Regions from separate parts of the Homo sapiens genome. Here region 2 is linked to region 1. The links are contacts of gene promoters, found by promoter capture Hi-C in blood cells and fetal thymus (Javierre and others, 2016). All regions are on one chromosome and are shown on one strand. The core of a region is centred on a gene start or on the middle of the fragment in contact, and the rest is flanking DNA. Distances in the headings are between cores, read along the strand shown. Region 1 holds the start of TMEM165 (transmembrane protein 165). Region 2 holds the start of SRP72 (signal recognition particle 72).

Region 1 (5,214 bases), core at 137-2,636:
AGCCAGATCAGAAGAAACCTGAACATCACTCTCCTAAAAAGGCTGGACTGAAATTAGTGGAGGCAACTCACCGACGACTTCTGACAAGATGGCAGAATTCAATGTTCGGGAAGATTAGTTACGTGGAGATGGGCTGGATGTGGCCTGGGTGGGAGTGGGGGTTTGAGTGCCACACTGGCCGGGATTCAGGGAGCAGATACTGGAAATGACGACAAAGCCCACGACTGGGAGAAGGGAGAAATGTTAAAACGCTGCCAAGTGACTAAGGACTAATTCTATTAACAGATTAAAAAGTTGATTTCTAGTATCTATTCAGGGAAGGACAAAATACAGGATTCTGTTTTACTTATAAATGTAGTTTTGGCATCCCACATCGCTGCAGCACGCTGTACTGCCGGAGACTAATTCCTCTGCGTTCCTAAAGGCTACTTCCTGCTAGCCAAAGCACATTTTTAAAAAGTGAGAGTCATGGTTCATAATCCATATTTGGCAAAAAGCACAGGCAGTGCCAAGTTGAATTTGGGTAAGCAGTTTGGCATAAGCTATTTCAACAATGAAATGGCCGATGTGATGATCCTCAGGGAATACAAAAAGCCTCCTAGCAGCCTTCTGTTAAAAACTTTTTGGTAGGGATGAGTCTTTCTAGCTACTCTAAGACACATCTGATCAATAAAACGCCCATCCCGGAGCAGCATCTTGGCCCTCCGGAGATCAACGTTTATAGCGGGCTCCTCTTGGACTCTCCCTCTCCCTTTCCCTAAAGGAGCGGGCAAGACCAGGCCTCACCGGAAAACAGCGCAGCCGACCGCCCTCCACCCCGGGAGCAGGGGCCGGGCTCCCCTCCCCCAGCCGAGGCCGGCGGAGTGCGGCGCTTTCAAAGGCCTGGAGCCTGGTACTCGGCGCAGCCGGCCCTGCAGCCTCGCTCGCCCCATCCCGGCCCGCTCACCTCGACCCGGGCCGGCTCGGGGCCCTGCACAGCCACAGGCTGCGGCTGCAGCTGCTGGGCCGGCGCCGGCGGTTCTTTGTTCCGGTGGCTAAGGTCTTCATCTGGGCCGGCCCGGACCGCAGCCGGGGCCCACAGCAGCGGAACCAGAAAGAGCAGAAGCAGCCGGGGCGCCGATGCGCGGCCGTTCCCTGGAGCCGCGGCCGCCATCCCGCCTGCCGGGCCGGCCGCGCACGGGCGCCGCAAGAGGAAGTGCCGGCGACGGGAAGCCTCGACCCCGAACAGCCTCCGCGGCGCGTCCTCACGACTCGCCGCCGCCGCCGCTTAGGGAGCAGTCAGCACCATCCGGGAGGTGCAAGCAGCGGGAGTGAGGTGAGGGGCAGGCCGAAGTCCGCAGCCCCGGCTCGGCGCCCGTCCTCTCCGGCGGCGGCTAAACTGGAGTCAGCCAGCTGCCTCGGCGCGGCCCAGCCCCGACTCCTCCCGGCCCCGTCCCTGCCCGCGACGGCCTCCCATTGGCCCGGCGACCGCCTTGGCGTCGTGACGTCCTCTGCCAGGTTGAGGTGCGGCGCGGGCCCTCCTCCCATTGGATCCGGCGCTCCCGGCAGGTACCCGGCGCCGCGTGTCCTTCCTCTGCTCGCATCCTCACCGCGCCGCGCCCGGGGCTCCCTTTCTCTCTCTGTGCCCCACCGTCCCAGGACTGCGAGGTCCTTCACTTCTGCTTCCTCCAGAGCCTTCCGCCGTAATGTCCGCACCCGCTGTTCCCTGCGCTTAGTCTCTCTTAGAGGTCAAATTAGTGCGAGCGCCTCTGGTTACGTGGCGCTGACTCGCAGGCACTGCCACGCCCAGCTCTGTTCCGCTCTCCCCCGCCGAGCCTCTGTGCCACCCTCCATGTGGCCACCTACCGCCAAAAACGTTCTTAGGAGCTCAAAATGCTATTTTTTTTTTAAAGTTCTGAAATGGGATTTGGAAATAACATGACATTTTTCAAGCCTTGTTTTAAGATACTGCCTATAATTACCCCAGACCAAAAATGGCTAACGTTGCCCTTGTCCAGTATGGCCTTGACGTTTTGGGTGCATCTTGTTTTGTGCTATTCCTTAGACCCTTTAAAAATGCTGGGCTTTTGAAATGGACTGTTTAAGACTTTTGCAGGATGGAGCTTTGAGTGGGCAAGACTAGAAGACAGGAAAGGATGGTCTTGAGTTAGGCTTGAGAATATTTTTACGTCTTCCCAAAAGAAAAAGTGAGCTACTTAATTACCATAAGTTTGAGACCTAGTCCCTAATAAAAATCGATAGTGCTAACCATGTGCCAGGCACTAATCTAATATTATACATATTTACATACAGTAAACCTGTACTCAGTAAAGAGCTAAGGAAGTTTATCACTAACTGAAACAAAAAATTAATCCACCAAAACAATCTGTGGGAAAGTGGGCAAACCTACTTTGAGTTCACCAAAGATACAGTGTTTGTCACAGGATAATAAAATTTCCGTCTGTTTTTTTGTTTTGTTGTTTTCTTTGTTTTTGTTTTTGAGACGGAGTTTCGCGCTTGTTGCTCAGGATGGAGTGCAATGGTGAGATCTCGGCCCACTGCAACCTCCTCCTCCCGGGTACAAGAGATTCTCCTGCCTCAGCTTCCCGAGTAGCTGGGATTACAGGCATGCTCCACCATACGCGGCTAACTTTGTAATTTTAGTAGAGATGGGGTTTCTCCATGTTGGTCAGGCTGGTCTCGAACTCCAGACCTCAGGTGATCTGCCGGCCTCGTCCTCTCAAAGTGCTGGGATTACAGGTGTGAGCCACCGCGGCCGGCCTCCGTCCATGTTATTCTGTCCGTAATTCCCCTTCTTCCATTCTCTCCTTGTAAACTCCTACTCATACTTCCAAAACCTATTCAAGCTTCCACTCTCAGAACTTTTCCCCAACACATGGCGTTACAGAATTTGTCACTTGTTCCTTCATGTTATTGCTTTATGCATTCTTCTATTACTGTGTAAGTAGGATGCCTCCACTTACAGTTTGGGGTGTGTTAAAAGAAAAACCTTAGACAAATTAAACTTAACAGCGTTTAATCAAGCAAAGAACCCAAAGAATGATCTGCAAATCAAAAAGACCCCAAATCAAAGTAAGTTCAGAGAGGCTCCAGTCTTGCCGAGTGGTCGGAAAAAATAAAGTGACTTACAGAAAACATAATTGAGGGACAGAAACAGCTGGATTGGTTGTAGCTCAGGTTTGCCCTATTTGAACACGGTTTGAACAGTTGGCCACTTGTGATTGGCCAGAACTCTGTGATTGGTACAAGAATAGGTTACAGTCTGTTTACATACCCAATTAGGCTACAGTTCACCATGTATGGGGAAACCTTTAGGCCTAACTTAAAATATGTAAGGAGGCAGCTTTACACTAAATTTAACAGATGCAACTATCATCCCTGGAGTGCAAATGTTTGAGCTTTCAGAAGCCAGTAATAACATAAAACCCAGAAGCCCAAACTTCAACTACCTCCCCTTAATGCATACAGGATTTGCTGTGCTTAAAAGGGGCCTGAAAGGGAGGCTTGAGGTCCCAAGGGAGGGACCTGAAAGGAGCAGCTTAGGCTGAAGACAGAGCCAGAAGGGTGAATGTAGCAAAACTGGCTGTGTGTCCCTCATTGCTGAAAGCTGCTTTGTTTATTTTCTAGGATGGGCTGCCCACACTCCAGGGCTTTCTCACAGGAAGGACTCCTGGCCAAATTCAGTCATCTCAACATATGAGGCAGTGAGGACTTCTGGGCTACAGCTGCAGGATGCTGAAGCACCAGCTGCTGAGCATGCAGTGGTTCAGGGGCAAGGCAGCAAAGCTATTTGGCAGAAGATGTAACATAAATGGAGATAGAGCATTGGCGAACTGGCACAGTGGTGTCAGCAAAGCATCAGAATCTGGGCCAGAGTGAGACCTTTCTAGCCTGCCCCAGTGTCACCCTGATCCAAGGGCCTTCAGGTGCTGCCAGGCTAGGCTCTAGGTGTCTGATTCTCATGGGATCTGGTATTTCTGTTTCCACACACATCTACCTCCTGGGATCCGTGCTCAGGCGTGCTAAATCGAGGCTGGCTCCAGTTTTCACCACCTTGAGGGTTTAGAGCCATCATCCTTCTAGTCCTCATTGGTGACTAACTCCCTTAAAAAAAGCAATTAAAAAACTATAGGAGCTTTCCTGATACCTTTCTTGAAGGACAACTGAAGCTACTTATTTAACCCCCTACCCAATAAGGATGTGGGTGGCGCAACAATTCCAAGATGATATATTTTTTAATCATAGCCTACACCGATATAGTCTTACTAAAATGTAACCACTGTCAGGCATCCTATGGAAAGAAACCCTACTACATGTGCATTACATTGTATTTTATTTAATTAATTTATTTATTTATTTTTGAGGTGGAGTCTCGCTCTGTTGCCCAGGCTGGAATGCAGTGGCAAGATCTCGGCTCACTGCAGCCTCCGCCTCCCGGGTTCAAGCAATTCTCCTGCCTCAGCCTCCTGAGTAGCTGGGATTACAGGCATGTGCTACACGCCCCACTAATTTTTTGTATTTTTAGTAGAGACGGGTTTACCATGTTAGCCAGGATGGTCTTGATCTCCTGACCTCGTGATCCGTCCGCCTTGGCCTCCCAAAAGTGCTGGGATTATAGGCATGAGCCACTGTGCCTGACCTATATTTTATTTTTTATTTATTTATGTAGAGATGGAGTCTCGCTCTGTCACCCAGGCTGGAGTGCAGTGGTGCGATCTCAGCTCACTGCAACCTCTACCTCCCAGGTTCAAGCGATTCTCCTGCCGCAGCCTCCAAAGTAGCTGGGACTATAGGCGCCCGCCACCATGCCTGGCTAATTTTTGTATTTTTAGTAGAGACAGGGTTTCACCATGTTAGCAAGGCAGGTCTCGAACTCCTGACCTCAAGTAATCCATCCACCTCGGCCTCCCAAAGTGCTGGGATTGCAGGTGTGAGCCACTGAGCCGGGCCTGCACTGTATTTTAATGTCTTTTATTCCAACACCCTTACTAAGCCTTAAGCTTCTAGATGGTAAGGTTATGCCTTTTATCTTTATATTTCTAGCACCTAGTAGATTATATAAGAAGGTAATGGGAATAGTTATCATTAAAGTAGTAGTAAAACTTTATTGAATGCTATTCTGATCCAGTCAGAGCACTAAGTGTGTTACATGAATTATTTCTATCCTCCTTTTTGCAAATGAGAAATCTGAGACTTAGGTCAAGGAACTTTCCT
Region 2 (5,525 bases), core at 882-3,381, 1.1 Mb before region 1:
GATGACATTCAAAGCTTCCTTGAAACTTCCATTCTGGATAAGGCATACCACTTTACAATGCAGGGCAGTTACGTCATCTTTGTTGATCTGTAGTACTAGAGAACAATTTTAGGAAAAGTCATTTTTAAATCCATTTCCTTTTCACATTTTTACTAAATTTTCCCACCCTGTCTCTCCGAAAGCTAAATTTCTACTTTTATTGCAACAGAAATAATTGGTCAGAACAACTGGAAGAAACAGCAACAAAACAAAACAAACCCAGAAAACAACTAATCTTTGCTTTTAACTTAAGAAGTGACAATAAGGAGAGTTATAGATTAAATTTTCAATGAGATAAAGATTCCCAATATACATGTACCAAAAAAGTGCAGTGAAATAAAGAAGAAAGAAGCAATTTCTCCAGATATTTCATCTTGAAATGCATGCTACATTCTACATAGTTCATTACTTCACAGGGAAAAAGTTCAGGTAGAATTTGGAAGCAAATGACCTAGGTTTGGTGCAAGCTTGCCACTAAATGCTTTGAGGTATTGGGCATATCACTTAACAGCCAAATCTCAGTTTTCTTAGCTACAAAATGATTAGAAAAGCATTACCTATTTAATAAGGTTACTGACAATATGAAATGAATATTTTGGAAAAATCTTATAAAGTATAATACAAAGGCAATTTATCTTGCTGGCAACGTTTCCAAAAATCATTAAAATTTCCCCTTTTCAACTAAGATGACCAAAGTATAAGGAAGAACTCAGGTGGCAAGTTTCAACGCTAACAACTGTTCGGTGTTAAAATGACCAGGATCATAGTTACTCTTGCTCCTGTGCAACTACAGAAGTCCAATTCTCAAAGAATCACAAGAATTTCTACCAATTAAGAAAACATACTGGTAAACAAGTTGACAATCTTTGCTGATTAAAGAATTCCTGCAAAATACTATACTAAGTATACAGTACTGGTTGGAAGGCTAGAGTTAATTCAAACAAATTTAGGGATCAAATAATTCTAATTCGTAGCTATTTTCCTCAATGTCTGAAATCACCAAAAGTGCACTGTGGGCACAATCACTACTTTTCACGTTAACCCAGTACTAGAGTGTTGAAAATTACTTAGATAGCTTTGCATGTTACTGACACACCTTTTAGGTTACTGCTACTCTGAACAGCTAAGCCCTGCCTTGGTAATTACATTTCCAAATCTAACATGCACAGGCTGTATCTTCAGTAGAGAAGAACTGCGCACCACCGAGAACATTAAGCAGCATGGCCATATTCCAGGTATGTAGTAAGGAACAAAAGAATATGATGAATTAAACCTCACACCAAAGGCGGTAAAAACCGAAATCATCCCTTACAGGGCAAAAAAACAGGCCAAACTTTTCTTCCGACATTATTTCAAGTGTTGGTGCTTCCACACACATATTTCCTAACTTAATAACACTGAAGAGATCTCATCTATGGGAATGACAGGCCTGACATCCAGATCCAGCCCTTTCCTCTCGCCCCGTAGAACCCGTACAGCTTCCACCTGGTTAGCACCAGCCTCTAAACTACGTGTCCCAAGCAGGTTCCTCCCCCTTTAGCGGCCAAAGAGAACAAGCTCCCTCAGCAATAGAGTCCTGATCACTGCGCTCAAGACGAAGAAGAAAAGGAGGCACTTTGGAATATTTGTGAAATAAAGCAGCAAAGGAGTCAAATAAGAAAACAGTTTGAAATGGACTCCGGGAGCTGCGGTCTCTTTAAAACCTTCCCTCGCTTCCCGCGGAGGGTAAAAAGAGAAGTACACGTGGCTGTAAGCAACCAGGGACCCCAGGCTGGCCTGGTGAAGCCGAGGAGTGAGACCTGCGTCTTCCGGGCGCTAGGGCCCGAGCCGGGCGGACAATAGACGGGGGGGTTTCGGGGGTCTCCCCTTCCCGTGCCTCCCGCGCGAGGTGGTCTCGCGCGCCGGAAACAGGCCGCATCCTCCAGCCGGCCTGGGCCCGCCCCAGTGCCCACCCCGACACTTACTCTTATTGACGGTCTTGAGAGCGCGCGTGAAGTCGCCGTTCTGGCCATACCGGTTCACTTCACTCCACAGCGCAGGTACTGACACCCCCCCGCTGCCGCCGCTCGCCATCTTGGAGGAGACGAGGGGCGGGGCGGGGAGACCTCTGCCCCGGAACAGGATCTCCGAGGCAGCCAAGAGGAGGAGGAAGTCGATGATTGCTAAGCGTCGCCGAGTTGGGAGTGTCTTCAGCCCTAAGGCAGCATCAGAGATCATAATCTTCTGCTCTCGTGGCAAGAAATTTGTGCGGATAGAGTTGATACACCTCACTTGAAGTTGGCCTGGAGAAAAGAGGCGTCGGACTCCTGGACGGGGTTGGGAAACGGTCACCAGTTTCGGCTCAAAGCAGCCTGTTTCCAGGAGACCGCCATGGTCGAGGCAGCGTCCTGGTCCCACGGTGCGGGGCCGGACGATCATTTATGGGATATAAATAAAAGGACTATGAGGTGGTAAATAAAAGACTACCAACTAGAAGCCATAGGGAGTCATTTGAAGGAGAAATAGGCACGGCTCATCTGTGGTTGAGGGAAAGGGATCTTGAAAGATGATTAGGAGAACTTGGGTTCTGGGGAAAGTGCGGGAAGACATTCTGGCAGAGAAGCAAACGTGAGGAAAGGTAAGAAGGCAAGAATCTCCCATTACAAAGGGTTTGGTGAAACCCTTTGCCTGTCCTTTTCGCTCCCTTCGGGAGCAGTCGGCAATAAGCTGGAAGGGTAATGGGGTGAAAATGCCCGTGGTCAGTTCCCTGGCTCTGCGACTCACTAGATGTCTGACAATAAACAAGTTACTTAGCTTCTGGGAGTCTGTTTTCCCGATTGTGAAATGGGGATACTATATTTGTTCTAGAGATATAAAATATTAGGGTTTGCTTGCGACCGTTAATATCAAGATGTGTTCAGATGTACGAAGGGAATGGATATCTGTTGGGTACACTTGATGTGAGTGATTTTTTTTTTTTTTTGAGACGGGGATCTTGCCGTGTTGCCCAAGCTGGTCTGGAACTCCTGGGCTCAAGCAATCCTCCCACCACAGCCTCCCCAAGTGCTGGGATTACAGGCATGAGCCACCACACCAAGACGATGTGAGTGATTCACTTGATGTGAATGTTGTATTTCATTGAATGGCCTGCTCTTCAGACTCATATCTCGTCATGACCTTTACAACTTCTACTACTTCCTGTGTCCCTCAGGAACCTAGCTTTTTTTTTTTTTTTTTTTTTTTTTTTTTGAGACGTAGTCTAGCTCTGTGACCCAGGATGAACCTCACTGCAATCTCCACCTCCTGGGTTAAAGCGATTCTTTTGCCTCAGCCTCCCAAGTAGCATGAGCCACCACGCCCGGTTAATTTTTGAATTTTTAGTAGAGATGGGGTTTCACTGTGTTGGCCAAGCTGGTCTCAAACTCCTGACCTCAAGTGATCCGCCCTCTCTCAGCCTCCCAAAGTACAGGGATTACAGGCGTAAGCCACCGTGCCCGGCCTTGCTAACTACTTTTTGTCTTTCAGTCTTTCTGGTTATACGTTGAAAGTTACTTTGAGGAAACATTTGATCTTGCAGACTGGGCAGCCTTCTGGTTGCATCCTCTTAGAACAGGGGTCCCCAACCCTTGTACTGGTCTGCAGCCTGTTAGGAACCGGGCGGCACAGCAGTAGGTGATCGGTGGGCCAGTGAGCAGTACCGCCTGAGCTCCTGTCAGATCAGCTGTGATATTAGCTTCTCACAGCTCAAACCCTATTGTGAACTGGGAATGTGAAGGATCTAGGTTGCTCACTCCTTAAGAGAATCTAATGGGAAATGTAATGAGCTTGAATCATACTGAAACCAGCTGTCCAACTCCTGTGGAAAGATTGTCTTCCCTGAAACCGGTCCCTGGTGCCAAAAAGGTTGGGAGACTCCCTATAGGACTCCACTTCTGAGCACTGATAATTAAGGGTTATCTCACTCTGTATGGACTATAGTTCTGAGGCCAAGGAACCATATTTACCTTGCTCACTGCAGTATCCCTAGGATCTAGCATACTGCCTGGCACATAGTTGGCATTTTTTGTTTCACATTCCTTGCCTAATCTTGAGTTCCTTGAGGGCAGAAACTGCCCAGCTCCTGATATGGCATATGGTGCCCTGCCATATTTTTGTCTGGTCCTTCCAGTATATACAATGCAAAGAGCATGAAAGGTGGCTTGAACTCTAGGTGCTGGAGGGTGTAATTCTTGTGAATTAGTAAAAATCATGAGAAGAGCTTTAGACTTTTACTGACTAGAATTGTCACAGGTTTCAAGCCAGTTATGTTTAGATTTCAGGGGGTGGGGGCTCCAGATGACATGGTATACCCAAAATGTTGTGTGAGAAAATTGGGTATACCCAAAATTTTGTTGTATTTTGTTATTCTGAGAAAATGTAGATTCCACTGTATTCTCCAAAGGTGTTTATATCCACCATCCCCTCCCAAAAGTTAAGAGCCACTGTCCTAGTAGTACTTTTTAGAACATTGACTTTATATAAGAATTGGCAATTTTCGTTTCTATATCATTCTAATCCTATATACTTTGTAGCTTTTAGAAATGCTCAGAATTCTGCTGCTGTGGACTTGTTTCTATTTCTTATGTCATTTTAATGGAGTTTTGTGGCAAACAGCCTATAAATATGGGGCTTAACCTGCCATTTTTGAAACAGGAATCTTCCAAACCATAGTGGTGTTTTGTTTTTTTTTTTTTAAATAACAAATTTACATCTCACATTGTGAAGGATGGAAAGATTGTCTGGTGAGGGGCCACTCTGATTCATAGATGGCATCTTCTGTTTTCACATGGTGGGAAAAAAACCAGACTGATCTCTTAAAGCATGTATCTGATGCCACTTTCCTACCCTCACGATAAAATCCGAACTCCAAAGAAGAGCAGTAAGAGCTTTTGTGATCTGGCCTCTGCTTGCCACCTCCCCAACTCACATAGGTCTCTATACTTATTTCCTAGCCCCCTTGCATGCTATTCACCTCTAACTTCCATGTAGTTATGTGTCCCCCTACCTCCTGGAATTTGCATTTTTATTCATCTGACAAGTGTTTGTCTTGTATATGCCAGTGCCGTGTATTACACCAGTTGCTGTGATACAGCTGACAACAAAGAAGACAGCCCAGTGTAATACATTTATTTTCTAGTTGGGAGAGATGGGTAATAAATAAACATGTACTATGTTTGGTGGTAATAAGTTTGCTGAAGAAAATTATGGAAAGGTAAGAGAGATTGAGTATAGACTGTGGAGAATTAGTCTTTTTCATTCACAGTATACAATTGTTTTCTAGAGATCAGAGTCCTTCCTACTTTTGTGTATTCACAATACCCTATTGTTAATTCCATATTAAGACTATATACGGTGTTTTGAAATTGTCTGCCTCTGGAGACTTCCAAGATTCATTGAGAGCAGAAGGTTAATTTTGTTCATCTTTGCATTCCCAGGGTCTTATATATACATAATAGGCTGTATTTGTT

Evidence for each region. The method cuts DNA at HindIII sites, captures the fragments that hold promoters and counts their contacts. A CHiCAGO score of 5 or more calls a contact.
Region 2: the fragment with the promoter of SRP72 here is called in contact with the fragment with the promoter of TMEM165 in region 1 in 1 of 17 cell types (activated CD4 T cells); the score reaches 5.2 in activated CD4 T cells.

Annotation. Positions count from the first base shown.
Region 1 is chr4:55,392,129-55,397,342 of GRCh38, reverse strand. TMEM165 (transmembrane protein 165) reads right to left here and starts at 1,386. Exons shown (of 6, transcript NM_018475.5): 1 at 947-1,386. The coding sequence starts at 1,153. RefSeq lists silencers at 711-1,180, 1,381-1,580. The HindIII fragment of the contact is 4,477 bases long and covers 1-2,848 here.
Region 2 is chr4:56,464,223-56,469,747 of GRCh38, reverse strand. SRP72 (signal recognition particle 72) reads right to left here and starts at 2,131. Exons shown (of 19, transcript NM_006947.4): 1 at 2,004-2,131; 2 at 1-95. The coding sequence starts at 2,112. It overlaps LOC124900706 (a long non-coding RNA gene), which reads left to right and starts at 2,190. Exons shown (of 2, transcript XR_007058126.1): 1 at 2,190-2,656. PAICS (phosphoribosylaminoimidazole carboxylase and phosphoribosylaminoimidazolesuccinocarboxamide synthase) reads right to left here. Exons shown (of 9, transcript NM_001079524.2): 9 at 5,170-5,525. RefSeq lists an enhancer at 2,077-2,286. The HindIII fragment of the contact is 5,513 bases long and covers 509-5,525 here.